Regions from separate parts of the Homo sapiens genome. Here region 2 is linked to region 1. Evidence: promoter capture Hi-C in human tissues and cell types (Jung and others, 2019). All regions are on one chromosome and are shown on one strand. Each heading gives the region's core, a stretch centred on a gene start or on the middle of the fragment in contact. The rest is flanking DNA. Distances are from core to core; before and after follow the strand shown.

Evidence for each region. Contacts are between HindIII fragments. The study calls those that stand out against the background at their distance.
Region 2: a fragment that was not itself captured here is called in contact with the fragment with the promoter of IER5L in region 1 in 3 of the 25 tissues and cell types used here (IMR-90 fibroblasts, dorsolateral prefrontal cortex and spleen).

Annotation. Positions count from the first base shown.
Region 1 is chr9:129,175,774-129,183,117 of GRCh38, reverse strand. IER5L (immediate early response 5 like) reads left to right here and starts at 4,857. Exons shown (of 1, transcript NM_203434.3): 1 at 4,857-7,344. The coding sequence starts at 5,066. The coding sequence ends at 6,280. LOC105376289 (a long non-coding RNA gene) reads right to left here and starts at 1,347. Exons shown (of 2, transcript XR_007061813.1): 1 at 1-1,347. RefSeq lists enhancers at 3,049-3,972, 3,973-4,896, 4,634-4,928, 7,303-7,344, 7,292-7,344 and silencers at 4,653-5,032, 5,263-5,602, 6,553-6,702, 7,043-7,092. The HindIII fragment of the contact is 19,795 bases long and covers 1-7,344 here.
Region 2 is chr9:129,505,767-129,512,302 of GRCh38, reverse strand. All of the region lies in intron 3 of LOC124900275 (extensin-like), which reads right to left. The region is part of intron 4 of LINC00963 (long intergenic non-protein coding RNA 963); the gene reads right to left. Among named protein-coding and RNA genes, the nearest start is that of LINC00963, 20 kb to the right of the region's middle. The HindIII fragment of the contact is 8,439 bases long and covers 1-6,536 here.

The sequences.
Region 1 (7,344 bases), core at 3,608-6,107:
TTGGTGTGGAAATTCAGGGAGACTTGGTCCAGTGCCTGGTAAGAGCGAGAGCTCCAAGAAGAGCCAAACCACTGTCAGTCTTTCTCATTACACTTAAGGTCCTTGAAGCCAGGGCCACAGTGGCTTTCTGGGCACTAGGCCTATTGCCCAGGACTATGCTAGGAAAACACAGACAACAGCGAAGGGCGGGGGTCATTAACCTCCACCCGGGCCAGTGACAGGGAGCAAGTTCTGTGGGGCCAGCGGAGGCTACCCCAGATCCGCAGCCCTAGCCTCGTTCCCCAGTGTCCACCAGCTACAGCGCCACTGGCTCCTCAGCCTAAGAAAGAGAAGACTCAACAGTGACCCCTGTGGCCAGCCACACCCTCTGCCTTCCCTGCCACTGCCCGAAGCCCTGGGTTTCGGTCCCCACCCCTCTGGAACAAGCCACACTCCCAGCCAGAGACACAGTGCACTAGGGCAGCTAGAGGCAGGACCCGGAGGTGAGACGTCTGATTTCCAACCCCAGCTGTGGTCCCATGTCTTGAACACAGAGCACATCCCTCCTCTTCTCCAGACCTCAGTTTACCCATCTGGAAATTGAGGCTGGGGGTCAATCTGGTCTCCAGGGCCCTTCAAACTAGCAATGTTGTCTGCATCCTTAGGTTCATTGATTCACTCATGCCACAGGTCAGGGCCCACTGTGGACCCGGCCTTTGGCTGGGCCCCTTCGTTGCTGTTCTCGCTGCTAGAAGATCCCCCCTCTTCCTGGTCTCCAGGTCTCAGCTTCTCACTTCCCAGACCAGCCTTGGACCTTGGACCTGCCCTCCTCCAGCCCTGTCCTTCCAATCACAGACTTAGCTCTCAGTATTTTCTGGTCTATCTAGCTTGTCTGCTTCCCTCTGAATCGTGGCCTTCTGAAGGCAGAATCACATCTTGTTCCCTGACCCATTCCCAGGGACTCCAGAGAAGGATTCTGGAAGTATCTCTCAGGCAAATGAAAAATGAATGAATGTGTGAATTCCAAGTTTCTCTCCCACTTCCTCCAACACAACACCCCAATACAGTTTTTTGCCTATGGACCCCTTCCCCAAGTTAACCCCCGGGAGCCAACAGGGCAAATCCCACTGTGGATCAGGGGCCTTCCTAACCATGTCCCCTGCCACCAAGCCCGGGTGACCAGAAGGTGTCCACAGACATATGTGCACTTGTGAAGTGTTAACTGCTCTGATGGAGGGCTGACACCACCTGGGGTTTGATGGGAGCCCAGGTCCCCAGCGGTTCCATGCCCCAGCTCCATGCTGCCCCAGCAGACACTTGGTAAATACTGAGGCATTAATTAACTTCCTCCAGGGAGCAGTGACTCTGTGCCAGATGTAACCTCCCCAGCTCCAGGGGGAAAGGTGAGATCCCCAACCTTTCTCAGGTGTACAGAGAAATAAGGCCAGCCCTTCATCCTTGTCTCGTTTGGGCCTATTCCCCTTCGTGGGGTGCAGATCTGAGGGTACCTTCTCCTGACACGTGGGCACATACATTCTCACACACATGCACACACTGGCTGCCCTGAACCTTTATGCATCCCAGCAGAAGCCTGGCATGCAAACCACCCATTCTATAAACGTTTGTGAATTCCTACTATGTGCCCCCCAAGCCACACCGCTCCCCCGGGCACCAAATAGTGCAGCTGTTCCATTGCCTCCTTCAGCAAGGTTTTCCTGACGACAGCTGTGGTGCCTCCCCTTCCCAGCCCACCTCAAAAAAGACCAAGGGTTTTTATGAAGCTGCACAACTGCTGAGCCCTCCCCATTAGCCCACTTCTCAGTTCTTGAGAAAGAGGAGAGACAGAGTGTGGGCCCCCAACAGACCCAGAGGATGGGGCCACCCAGAAGAGGCTGACCACTTCTCAGCTGGCCCCAGTGAATGAAAGGAACTTCAAAGATCCCCAAACTCACCTTGTGGGGGACTAGGAGGTGCCACGAGGAGCTGCCCATGTGAGGGGCCTGGTCCTTCTGCCCCCAACCTGTAGGTGGAAATCCACCTCCATCCCTGCCCTGTTTCCCCATCTGGGCCCCCAGATTCATGTTCTGGGGTACAGCTCTGAATGAGGGGCTGAGGCTGAGACTGACATTTGCTTCCTTATGGGCCCTGGTCCCACAGCACTTGGCAGTAAAGCGGTGGGGGTCGATCAAACCAAGATCATATTCACCAAGAGCTGGGCCCTGAGAACTGGCCTTGGCTCCACTGACAGCGGAAGCTGATTTGGAGGAACCTCTGGTGAACTCCCACCCTGGAAACAGATGGGTTTGGGCTCAGATCTTGACTCCACCCCTTGCTGGTATGTGACCTCAAGCAAGGTGTGTAAACTCTTAGTTTCCCCCAATAAACACTGGGCCATGACAGAAAGAAGACCCCAAATCAGTGCTGATAATATTTTCTGGAGCTGTGGGCTTGCAGTGTGCCAGACACTGTGGATCCCAGACTTCACTGTTGCATACAGAGTCCTCACAGCTGTAAAGCCGGTAAGAGCTCCCAGATCCCTCTGCATGCTAGTGATGTCTCAAAGGTGAACTTCAAACATAAATAAATAAAGTCTTTTTTTTTTTTTTTTTTTGAGACGGAGTCTCACTCTGTTGCCCAGGTTGGAGTGCAGTGGCGCCATCTGGGCTCACTGCAAGCTCCGCCTCCCGGGTTCACACCATTCTCCTGTCCCAGCCTCCCAAATAGCTGGGACTACAAGCACCCGCCACCACGCCCAGCTAATTTTTTGTGATTTTTAGTAGAGACAGGGTTTCACTGTGTTAGCCAGGAAGCTCTTGATCTCCTGACCTCGTGATCTGTCCGCCTCGGCCTCCCGAAGTGCTGGGATTACAGGCGTGAGCCACCGCGCCCGGCCATAAATAAAGTCTTTGTGTGCCTTTAAGACAGGCACCAGGGAAGTGAAGGGCAGTGTATTTTTACTTCTACGTGTTATCACCTGAGCAAGTTCCACAGCCTGTAGGTCTGTATCACCAATAAAATGTAGGTAGGACATCCTTTATCTGAAGTCCCCTGAAATTTCAATCCTGGCTTCTCTGGGAGGAGGCCTGGAGAGGTGCTATTGGTCACAGGGGCCCAAAGCGTTTGAGATTGTTCGAGGGGGCCAAGGGAAGGACACAGCACCAGCCCTGGGGCCATGTGATCTTGGGCAAGTCTCACGCTGTCAGTGTCCGAGTTTCCTCATCGGAAAAATGAAGTAAACACCCGCTAACTCTGTCTTCACTCTCAACGCCTGGCATGGAGTAGATGCTAAGAAACTTTTGCAGAAATCTTGGAAATTCTTAAGACTAAAGAAAGACCCAGAGACCACAGGGTGGGCTACTGGGTCTCTCCACTCCCACCAAGGGATGAAGTAGGTGCTGAGAACTCAGAAGGAAGCCCCAAAAAGCAGAGACTCAGAAGATCCCCTGAGGAGGCGGTGAAGCAGCAGGACGTCTGGTCATGGGCCTCCCCCCTGAGTCCAGCCCCACAAGGTCCACCTATCTCTGGGAGACTCTGCAGACCTCGTTCATCCTTCAGGGATCCACTCATGGACCCTCCTCAGGCAAACCTCCAGACCATTTCCAAGAGCCTCCAGAGCTGTCTGGGCAGCCCCCACCCCAGGCACCTTTGAAACCCCTGGGAGCAGCAACCAGCCCCCTTCAGGCCTCTTGGTCCAGATAGAGCGCCCCCAGGAATCAGCAATCCTGTCCCTCTCTTCTCCCACTGTCTCAGTCCCCAGCTGGGACCTGAAGGGTTCAGGATAAGAAGGAAAGCTGTGTCAACAGAAGTTAAGTCGGTGAGTCCCCGGGCCTTTGGTATTCACCTCCCGTCTCGAGCGCAGGGTCCTGTCCCAGCTCCTAGCTCCGCCCCCTGGGAACTGTGTGGTTCCCCAAGTCACTCCACTCCTCCGAGCCTCAGGCCCCTCCTCTACAAACGTTAGAGTGAGGCATTGGGGAGTTGCTGGGAAGGGCCTGCCCCATATTAGGCCCATAATAATAGTCCCTATTGTCATTATTATTAGTTAGGCACGAAAGGAAAGGTTACAGAGCTGGTGATTAGGGCACTCAGCGTTTCGGCTCCCAGGACGCTTTTGAGCCTCAGCTGGTCGCGAGGTCCACACACTCCCTGGGTCATGCCTGGCCTCGGAACTCTCTCCATCAGAGAAGGTCAAAATTCACGATGTTTTGGTTTTTCCTGTCAGACAAATGGGGAGGACTTCCCTTCCGCAAGCATTCCCAGAGGCCCCTCGACCAAAAAGTCAAGGAGTCAGGCCCTACATTCTCTGCGGTAGAGGGTACCCCCAAAACCTCGCTCCTTTGATGTTCCCCAGTGTCAAGCCGGCGGCTCCACCAGCCTCCTGTAGAGAGGCCTTGACTCCCGCGGGTCACTCGGGGGGGCGACAGGTGCGCAGGTGGAGGCGCCGCGCCGCTGGGGGAGCGATGAGCGGCGCGCACCTGCCGCAGGTGAGGCCCAGCCGTGCGGAAAGGGGAGGAGCCGTCGCCGCAGCACTCAGGTGAGCCGACCCCCGGCTCCCGGGACCTAAGGCGAGGGCAGCCGCGGGCTTCAACGTGGCCGCTGCCAGGCGACCTATGCTGCAGACTGCGGCCCCGGCGGCTCCGAGTCCCGCGCGGCGCGGCAGCCCCAGGAGAACATTCGAGGCAGCAGCGGCGTTGGAGGCCCGGGGTCCGTTCGGTATTTGAATAGCACAAAGGAACCGCCTTGGTCTGATTGGCCAGCCGAGTAGCCCCGGGGCGGGCTGCGCCTGTCACTCAGGAGACTCTCAGAGCTCCTATTGGCTCTTCTCATGTGGGGCGGGGCCCGGGCACCCGGCTAAATAGCTGGGGCCGGGGCCGGCCGAGACTCATTGCTTTGGCGCCGTCTGGGGAGCGCGAGCCCGCGGGTGGCGCGCGGCGCATGGTGGCGGCTCCTTTCGGAGCGCAGCCGAACCTCTGACCCGGACTCCGTTACCCCTGCCCGGCGCGCCCCGGCGGCCGGCTGGAGGCAGAAACAGCAGAAGCGTTAACAGCAGCAGCGGCGGCGGCTGCTCCGCCGCCGTCTCCGCGGGAGCATGGAGTGCGCCCTGGACGCCCAGAGCCTGATCAGCATCTCCCTGCGCAAGATCCACAGCTCCCGAACCCAGCGCGGCGGCATCAAGCTGCACAAGAACCTCCTGGTGTCCTACGTGCTCCGCAACGCGCGCCAGCTCTACCTGAGCGAGCGCTACGCCGAGCTCTACCGGCGCCAGCAGCAGCAGCAACAGCAGCAGCCGCCCCACCACCAGCACCAGCACCTAGCGTACGCGGCGCCGGGCATGCCGGCCAGCGCGGCCGACTTCGGCCCGCTCCAACTTGGCGGCGGCGGGGACGCGGAGGCGCGCGAGCCGGCCGCCCGGCACCAGCTGCACCAGCTCCACCAGCTCCACCAGCTGCACCTCCAGCAGCAGCTGCACCAGCACCAGCACCCGGCGCCCAGGGGCTGCGCGGCGGCGGCGGCGGCCGGAGCGCCCGCGGGCGGCGCGGGGGCGCTCTCGGAGCTGCCCGGGTGCGCCGCGCTCCAGCCGCCGCACGGCGCGCCCCACCGCGGGCAGCCCTTGGAGCCTCTGCAGCCGGGTCCTGCGCCGCTGCCGCTGCCGCTGCCGCCGCCCGCGCCCGCTGCGCTCTGCCCGCGGGACCCTCGCGCCCCGGCCGCCTGCTCCGCGCCCCCAGGGGCCGCCCCTCCGGCCGCCGCCGCTTCTCCGCCCGCCTCCCCGGCCCCCGCCTCCTCCCCCGGCTTCTACCGGGGCGCATACCCTACCCCTTCGGACTTCGGCTTGCACTGCAGCAGCCAGACCACCGTGCTGGACCTAGACACTCACGTGGTGACCACGGTGGAGAACGGCTACTTGCACCAGGACTGCTGCGCCTCCGCCCACTGCCCCTGCTGTGGCCAGGGCGCTCCGGGACCGGGCCTGGCGTCCGCCGCCGGCTGCAAGCGCAAGTATTACCCTGGCCAGGAGGAGGAGGAAGACGACGAGGAGGATGCGGGCGGGCTGGGGGCCGAGCCCCCCGGGGGCGCCCCGTTCGCCCCCTGCAAGCGCGCCCGCTTCGAGGACTTCTGCCCGGACTCGTCCCCGGACGCGTCCAACATCTCAAACTTGATCTCCATCTTTGGCTCCGGCTTCTCGGGGCTGGTGAGCCGACAGCCGGACTCCTCGGAGCAGCCGCCGCCGCTCAACGGGCAGCTGTGCGCCAAGCAGGCGCTCGCCAGCCTCGGCGCCTGGACTCGAGCCATTGTCGCCTTCTAGGGACCCCCGAGGGCACAGGGACCCGGGGCCCCGCGGGGCTGGGGCCAGACAAAGACTCGGCAAAGGGGCGAGAGGAGGGAACGAGCGGGCGCCGGGCCACTCGGGGCTGAGCTGGGGGCGAGCGGGGGCAGGCGGCTGATGTTTTATAAATTGTAAAATAAAAAAAAAAGAAATCTAAAATCTTGGACTTTATTTTTGCAGAGAGAAAAAGCGCCTATTTAAGTATGCTTTGTGTTTCTCCTACTCCTTTTTTTCTTTTTATTGTAGTGATTGCAGTGGTGTTTAGCGAGGAGCCTACCACGTGAGGGAGGGCTGCTGCCCGGAGGAGGTGCCGGGCAGCCGGGGGCGAGGCAGGGCGCCCTGGCCGCCGGGGCGCGCCGGGGGCGCAGCTCAGGAGGGCGCCGGACCTGGGAAGCCGATTCCAATCAGTTGTCAGACCCGGGAAGCCCGACGTTCCGCTCTCCCGAGTCCCTCTGTGGGGTGAGGAATGGGTCTTGTGAAATTCTGAGCAAAAACAAAGGCAAACTCTATCTCCGAAAGGGACGTTTGGGTCACATTTCCTCTCTGGGGGCGGACTCCAAAGTTCTCAAAATGAGAAGGCAGAAATGAAAACACTTCAACTTTTTTTTTCTTTTCTTCCCGGGGCGGGTGTCTTGAACCCCTCTTCTCCCCGCCCCTCTGGCTCCGTTCTCCTCCCCTCCTCCACCCGTCTCCCGGACTCGGGGGTGGCGCCTGACACCCCGACACTCTCGGACACTGGGTAAGGGGTGGGGGGCGGGCACGGCGGACTACATTTCCCATCATGCCTAGCACTGCGGTCCTCACTAAACAAAAAAGGAAGTCAATTCCTTCACCTGGATCCCCGGCGGCCCCGGGGGAGGGAGGGGCCGGGACCGCCGACTGCGTTGGAGACTTTGCACTAAGTTCCTGGTCAGCTGTGGTGTTTGTGTGTGTGCTTCTAAGTTGCACTGCCTTGGTTCAGCCTTCGGTTGCATTTCATGAAACCAGCATTGTTCGAGCCTGTGAGAACCCCGTCCTGTGTCTTCAGCTCGATAGATTTGTTT
Region 2 (6,536 bases), core at 2,065-4,564, 330 kb before region 1:
GCTGAGCATTCATCTAATCAGCCTTTGTGGACCTCCAACGTCATGCCAGACAGATGGGGCCCTTATCACCTGGCAGTTGCATGTAGGTTATATGTCTACTTTTCAGGAACAGTGAAATGACCCCTCCTCCTGTGCCTCCTCCAAAGAGGAGTTGGAGAAGGAGCCAGGGCACAAAGAGACAGATTGTCAAAACCATGCCTATGCCGGGCATGGTGGCTCATGCCTGTAATCCTTGCACTTTGGGAGGCTGAGGCAGGCAGATCACTTGAGGTCAGGAGTTTGAGACCAGCCTAGCTAACATGATGAAACCCTATCTCTACTAAAAATACAAAAATTAGCTGGGCAAGGTGGCACGCACATGTAATCTCAGCTACTCAGGAGGCTGAGGCAGGAGAATCGCTTGAACCCAGGAGGTGGAGGTTGCAGGGAGACGAGATGGTGCCACTTCACTCCAGCCTAGGCGACAGAGCGAGGTTCCATCTCAAAAACAAAACACGACAAAACAAAACGAAAAACCATGCCTAGAGCTGAGACATCCTGAGGCTGGCTGGGGTCATCGGCTTGTGGTCAGTGTAGCCACCGCATGTTGGCCCACACCCTCCCCTTCCCTGGAAGCTGAGGCCAGAGGTCTGCCCATTAATCTCCCAGTGCCCCAGGGCTTCATGGGAAGCCCCTTTCCCCAGAGAAGCTCTTGTTCTCTAGCGTGGAAGCCCAGCTCCTTACTTATTCCTGGAGTCTAGCTCCCTCTAGTCAAGCCAGAGTACCCAGCTTTTGGTCAGGGGGCTGTACGTGTGGGGCAAAGGGCAAAGTGGTGTCCAGGACCTGGAGCAGGAAAAGCTTGCATTATGCTCTGTGTCAAGCCAGTGGGGGCTACAGGTCCTGGGTTACTACTTGCCAGTTGGTGGTTGTGTGGGCAAGGAAAGGGGGATCATGGGTGGGACCCTGAGAGGCACTTCTCATTCCCCTGTGAGAGGCCCCACATCTGGCCTCTCCAGACAGACTCCATGCTGGATAACAGTTGGGTTCAGAACTTTAAGGAACAAATTGCTGTTTCCAGCTCAGCTGTTCAGTCCATTGGGCTCCTCCTCTTCCAAATCCCCTATCACTAACCCTCCTGCCGCATGAGGGTAACCTCTACCCCTATTTCTAACACCATGGAGTAGTTTTGCCTGTTTTTGTCCTTTATATATGTGAACTATTTTGCACATTAAGGTTGTAGATTCATCTATATTGTTGTGTACGGTTTGTTTATTCTTAAAGCTGATCAATCATCCCCTGTATGAATGAATAGTCTATAATTTCTCTCTGTTCTAAAGCCGGAGGATATTCAGATTCTTTCCAGTTTAGGGCTATCCTGAATAGTGTTGGTGTGAATATTCCAGGTTATGTCTTTCTTTCTTCCTTTTTTTTTAATTGAGACAAGATCTTGCTCTGTCACCCAGGCTGGAGTGCAGTGGCGAGATCACAATTCACTGTAGCCTCCACCTTCCGGGTTCAATCAATCTGCATGCCTTGGCCTCCTGAGTAGCTGGGACTACAGGCATATACCATCATGCCTGGCTACTTTTTAGTAGAGACGAGGTTTTGCCTTGTTGCCTAGGCTGCTCTCGAACTTCTGGGCTCAAGCAATCCTCCCTCCTTGGCCTCCCGATGTGCTGGGATTACAGGCATGAACCACCTCACCTGGCACAGGTTACATCTTTTGATGAACACGTGGATGCATTTCTTTTGCCTGTATGCCCAGGAGTGGAAATGCTTGGTCAGAGGGCAGGGTGTGTTCAACACAATTAAACCTTACGGATGCTTTCGTGGTGGTTATACTAATTTAGATTCCCATCAGCAATGTCTGAGAGTTCTGGTTGCTCCATATCCTCATCAGCACTTGGTATTGCCAGTCTTTTTCACTTAAACTTCTCTGGTGTCTGAAGCGGTAGCTCACTGTGGTTTTGTATTCTCCTTGCTATTGTCCGAATGTTTGAGTTTCTCCCAAAAACTCATACGTTAAGACTTAATCGGCTGGGTGCAGTGGCTCATGCCTGTAATCCCAGCATTTTGGGAGGACGAAGTGGGCGGATCATGAGGTCAGGAGTTCGAGACCAGCCTGACCAACATGGTGAAACCCTGTCTCTACTAAAAATATGAAAATTAGCCGGGCATGGTGGCACACGCCTGTAATCCCAGCCACTTGGGAGGCTGAGACAGGATAATCACTTCAGCCCGGGAGGCAGAGGTTGCAGTGAACCAAGATTACGCCACTGCACTCCAGCCTAGGCAACAGAGTGAGAGTCCATCTCAACAACAACAACAACAAAAAGACCTAATCACCAAGGTGATGGTGTTAGAAGGTGTTAGAAGATGGGGATCTTTGAAAGGTGATTAGGTCATGAGGGCTCTATCCTTGTGAATTGGATAACTGCCCTTATAAAAGAGGCCCCAGAGAACTGTCTTCCCCCTTCCACCATGTGAGGATACAGCAAGAAGGTGCCATGTTTGAAGCAGGGAACGGGCTCAGGCACCGGATCTACTGCTGCCTTGATCTTGGACTTCCCAGCCTCCAGAACTGTGAGCAATAAATTCCGTTGTTTATAAATTTCCCAGTCTAAGGTATTTTGTTACAGTATCCTGAACTGACCAAGCCACCCCCATGAGTCATGAAGCTAGCAGCTTTTCGTGTATTTGTTGGCCTCCTAAGTACTCTTGTTATGAAGTACTTTAATGCAAGCCCTCCCCCATTTTTCTCTTGAATTGTCTGCCTTTTTCTTTTTGGTTTGTAGGAGTTCTTCATATATAGTGGGAAAAAATCATTTGGGATGTGTGTGTGTGCGCACACGCAAATGCATGCATGCACGTGTTTAAAAGGCCAATATTCTCTGTCCCACAAATTCAGAACACCACAGTGGTTGGGCCATAATTGCACTGTGGGTGGTGGCAGGGTTTCAGACAAAAGGCATAATAACATGTCACATAAAATTAATCTGATTTGAATCGATTTTGTACGTGATGGGTCAATTTGTCTTGGTCTGATGCTTGTATAAGAGCTACAAGGAGTTTATATCTCATTTTATGCTTGCACATGTTTAAGTAATACACAATAAAAATCATTTAAGGCAACAGTGAGGGCCCAGGAGATGCCCTTCTTCTCTAGGTAAGCAGGAGATTCTCAAAACACAAATCCAATCTGTGACTCCCCTGCTTAATGCATCTCAAAAGATCCTTTTTTTGTCTAGGATGGAGATGAGACTCCTTCCCCTGGTAGGCGGCCTCCTCGGACCTGCTCCCCTGCACTGTTCACTGAAGCCGCCGCCTCCTTCTGGGCATGGTCTCTCCATGTCTTCTCTCTCCACATAAGCCCCCAGCCCCTGTTTTGGAGCAGCTGCTGCCCTGACCACCCCTTTTGCTTAGACTTAGCTCAATCATCCCTTCTCTGGGAAGCTCCCACTGTGGCCTCTGAAACCACCATCCCAGCTGGGCACTTTGCTTCCTTTTTTTTTTTTTTTTTTGAGACAGAGTCTCGCTCTGTCGCCCAGGCTGGAGTGCAGTGGCGCCATCTCGGCTCACTGCAACCTGTGCTCCTGGGTTCACGCCATCCTCCTGCCTCAGCCTCCCGAGTAGCTGGAACTACAGACGCCCGCCACCACGCCCAGCTAATTTTTTTGTATTTTTAGTAGAGACAGGGTTTCACCGTGTTAGCCAGGATGGTCTCAATCTCCTGACCTCATGATCCGCCCGTCTCGGCCTCCCAAAGTGCTGGGATTACAGGCGTGAGCCACCACGTCCGGCCTTTGCTTCTTTGCATAATCTCAGCTGAGATTTATAATTTACTTGTGGGATTCTCCCCTCTCAAACTATAAGTTCTGTGAAGACAGAGATGGTATTTTTTTCTCCTCACTTTATTTATTTATTTGAGACAGAGTCTCACTATGTTGCCCAGGCTGGAGTGCAGAGGTGCAATCTCGGCCCACTGCACGCTCCACCTCCTGAGTTCAAGTGATTCTCCTGCTCAGCCTCCTGAGTAGCTGGGACTACAGATATGCACCACCATGCCTGGCTAATATTTGTATTTTTAGTAGAGACGGGGTTTTGCCATGTTGGCCAGGCTGGTCTCAAACTCCTGACCTCAGGTAATCCACCTGCCTCTGCCCCTCAAAGTGCTGGAATTACAGTCACGAGCCACTGCGCCCGGCCTTCTCCTCACCTTTTTCTCCAGTGTCCACTCCAGCATGCAGTATTTGATAAGCGCTCAGTAAATGTTTGTTGAATGACTTACTAACCTGAGCTTGTGTTAACTCTCTCACTGTATTGATTCTGAAAGGCAAAGAGGGCCCAAGGTCACATGTAGGGAAGGGCCAAAGGCAGGACTGGAGCCCAGCAATTCTTGTTCAACCACACGGAATGGGAAGTAAAGTCCTCTTTGGCCAGCAGCAGAGGGGCCAGGTCCCCCTTGTCATCAGCCTGGAAGACCCTAAAGGATCATCTAGGACAATTCTTTCATTCTTTGAATGGGGCATCTAAAACTGAAGAGTGGACAGGGATTGTCTAGAGTCATACGGTGAAGGTGATCCGGAAGTTCCGCTAGAGAACACAGCAGATTCTATCCTGTAGAAACACAATGGGTTCTACCCAGATTGCCTGACACTCAATATTCTTTTTTAATTAAACTAAATTAATTAACTACTTTTTGAGTGCAGTGTTGTGATCTCAGCTCACTGCAACCTCCACCTCTCAGGTTCAAACAATTCTCCTGCCTCAGCCTCCCGAGCTGCTGGGATTACAGGTGTGTGCCACCACGCCCAGCTAATTTTTGTATTTTTAGTAGAGTCAGGGTTTCGTCGCGTTGGCCAGGCTGGTCTTGAACTCTTGGCCTCAAGCAATCCACCTGCCTCAGCCTCCCAAAGGGCTGGGATTTCAGGCGTGAGCCACTGAGAGGGGCTCTGACACTCAACATTCTTTCCAGTATCCCCAACTCTCCTGGAGGTGAAGGACTAAGGGGGTGGGGGCATGGCTCTCAGACTCCAGACTGACAACCTAATATTGAGGCTGGGCTGGGAGTGGAACCGAGATTTCCCAGCCTGAGGCCAATGGATGACAAGGGCCTTTCTTGTTCTCCTCCAGAGCCTCTTCTGGAGCCCCACTAGGGAATTCCTGTCCTTGGAAAAGTGGGAGAGGACCAGAACATTCTGGAATAAAGACTGGAGACATTCAGAGTGACGCAAGAAGTACAGTCCACAGTGGAGGAAAACTCCAGCTGCCAGGCAATTGCCCGCTGGTCCCTGGCCTGGTCTAGGTGGTTGTGGGGGAAGGGGAGCTAACTGCAGTGACTCACTTAACCCTTTCCGGGCAGAGGAAGATAACGCTTTTTAATTGAAGAAATTTTTTAATTAAAAAACATTTTTTTGACGGCTTCTTGTTGAGCAGGGCTACCCCACAGGCCATGTGCCTAGAGTGGCCTTAATTGAAATTTTTGTTACAATCATTGTAGATTCCTGTACAGTTATAAGAAATAAAACAGCCGGGCGTGGTGGCTCATGCCTGTAATCCCAGCACTATGGGAGGCCGAGACGGGCGGATGACGAGGTCAGGAGATTGAGACCATCCTGGCTAACACGGTGAAGCCCCGCCTCTACTAAAAATACAAAAAATTAGACGGGCGAGGTGGCGGGCGCCTGTAGTCCCAGCTACTCGGGAGGCTGAGGCAGGAGAATGGTGTGAACCCAGGAGGCGGAGCTTGCAGTGAGCCAATATCGTGCCACTGCACTCCAGCCTGGGCGACAGAGCGTCTCCAAAAAAAAAAAAAAAAAAAGAAGAAATAAAACAGAGAGGCTGGGCACAGTGGCTCACGCGTGTAATCCCAGCACTTTGGGAGGCCGAGGCAGGTGGATCACCCAGCCTGGGCAACAAGAGGGAAACTTCATCTCAAAATAACAACAACAACAAAAAAGAAAACAGAGGGATCCCAGGTACCCGCCTTCACTCAGTTTCCCCAATGGTAACATCTCGCAGAACTACTGGGCGCCATCACAGCCGGGGTCTGACTGCTCTTGCTCAGGTTTCCCCGGTTTTCCGTATCCTCACGTGTGTGTATTTACTTCTGTGCAATTTTATCGCAGGCCAAGGCAGGCGGATCACCTGAGCTCAGGAGTTTGAGACCAGCCTGGGCAACATGGTGAAACCCTGTCTCTACAAAAAATACAAAAATTAGCCGGACACGGTGGCACGTGCCTGTAGCCCCAGCTCCTTGAGGGTCTGAGATGGGAGGATCACTTGAGCCCAGGAGGTGGAGGTTGCAGTGAGCCCATATTGCGCCACTGTACTCCAGCCTGGGTGACAGGGCGAGACCCTGTCTCAAAAACAAAAACAAATAAACAGAATGAGAGTATGCAACCTTTTGGGACTGGCTTTTCCCCTCAGCAGACACCACTTTTCTTGAGCACCTTGATCTCATAGTCCCAGGGACGGCTTCTGTTATTCCCATTTTACAGCTGAGCAAACTGCTCCCCAACGCCCAACCCCCAGAGCCAGCGCTCATGATGGCTAAT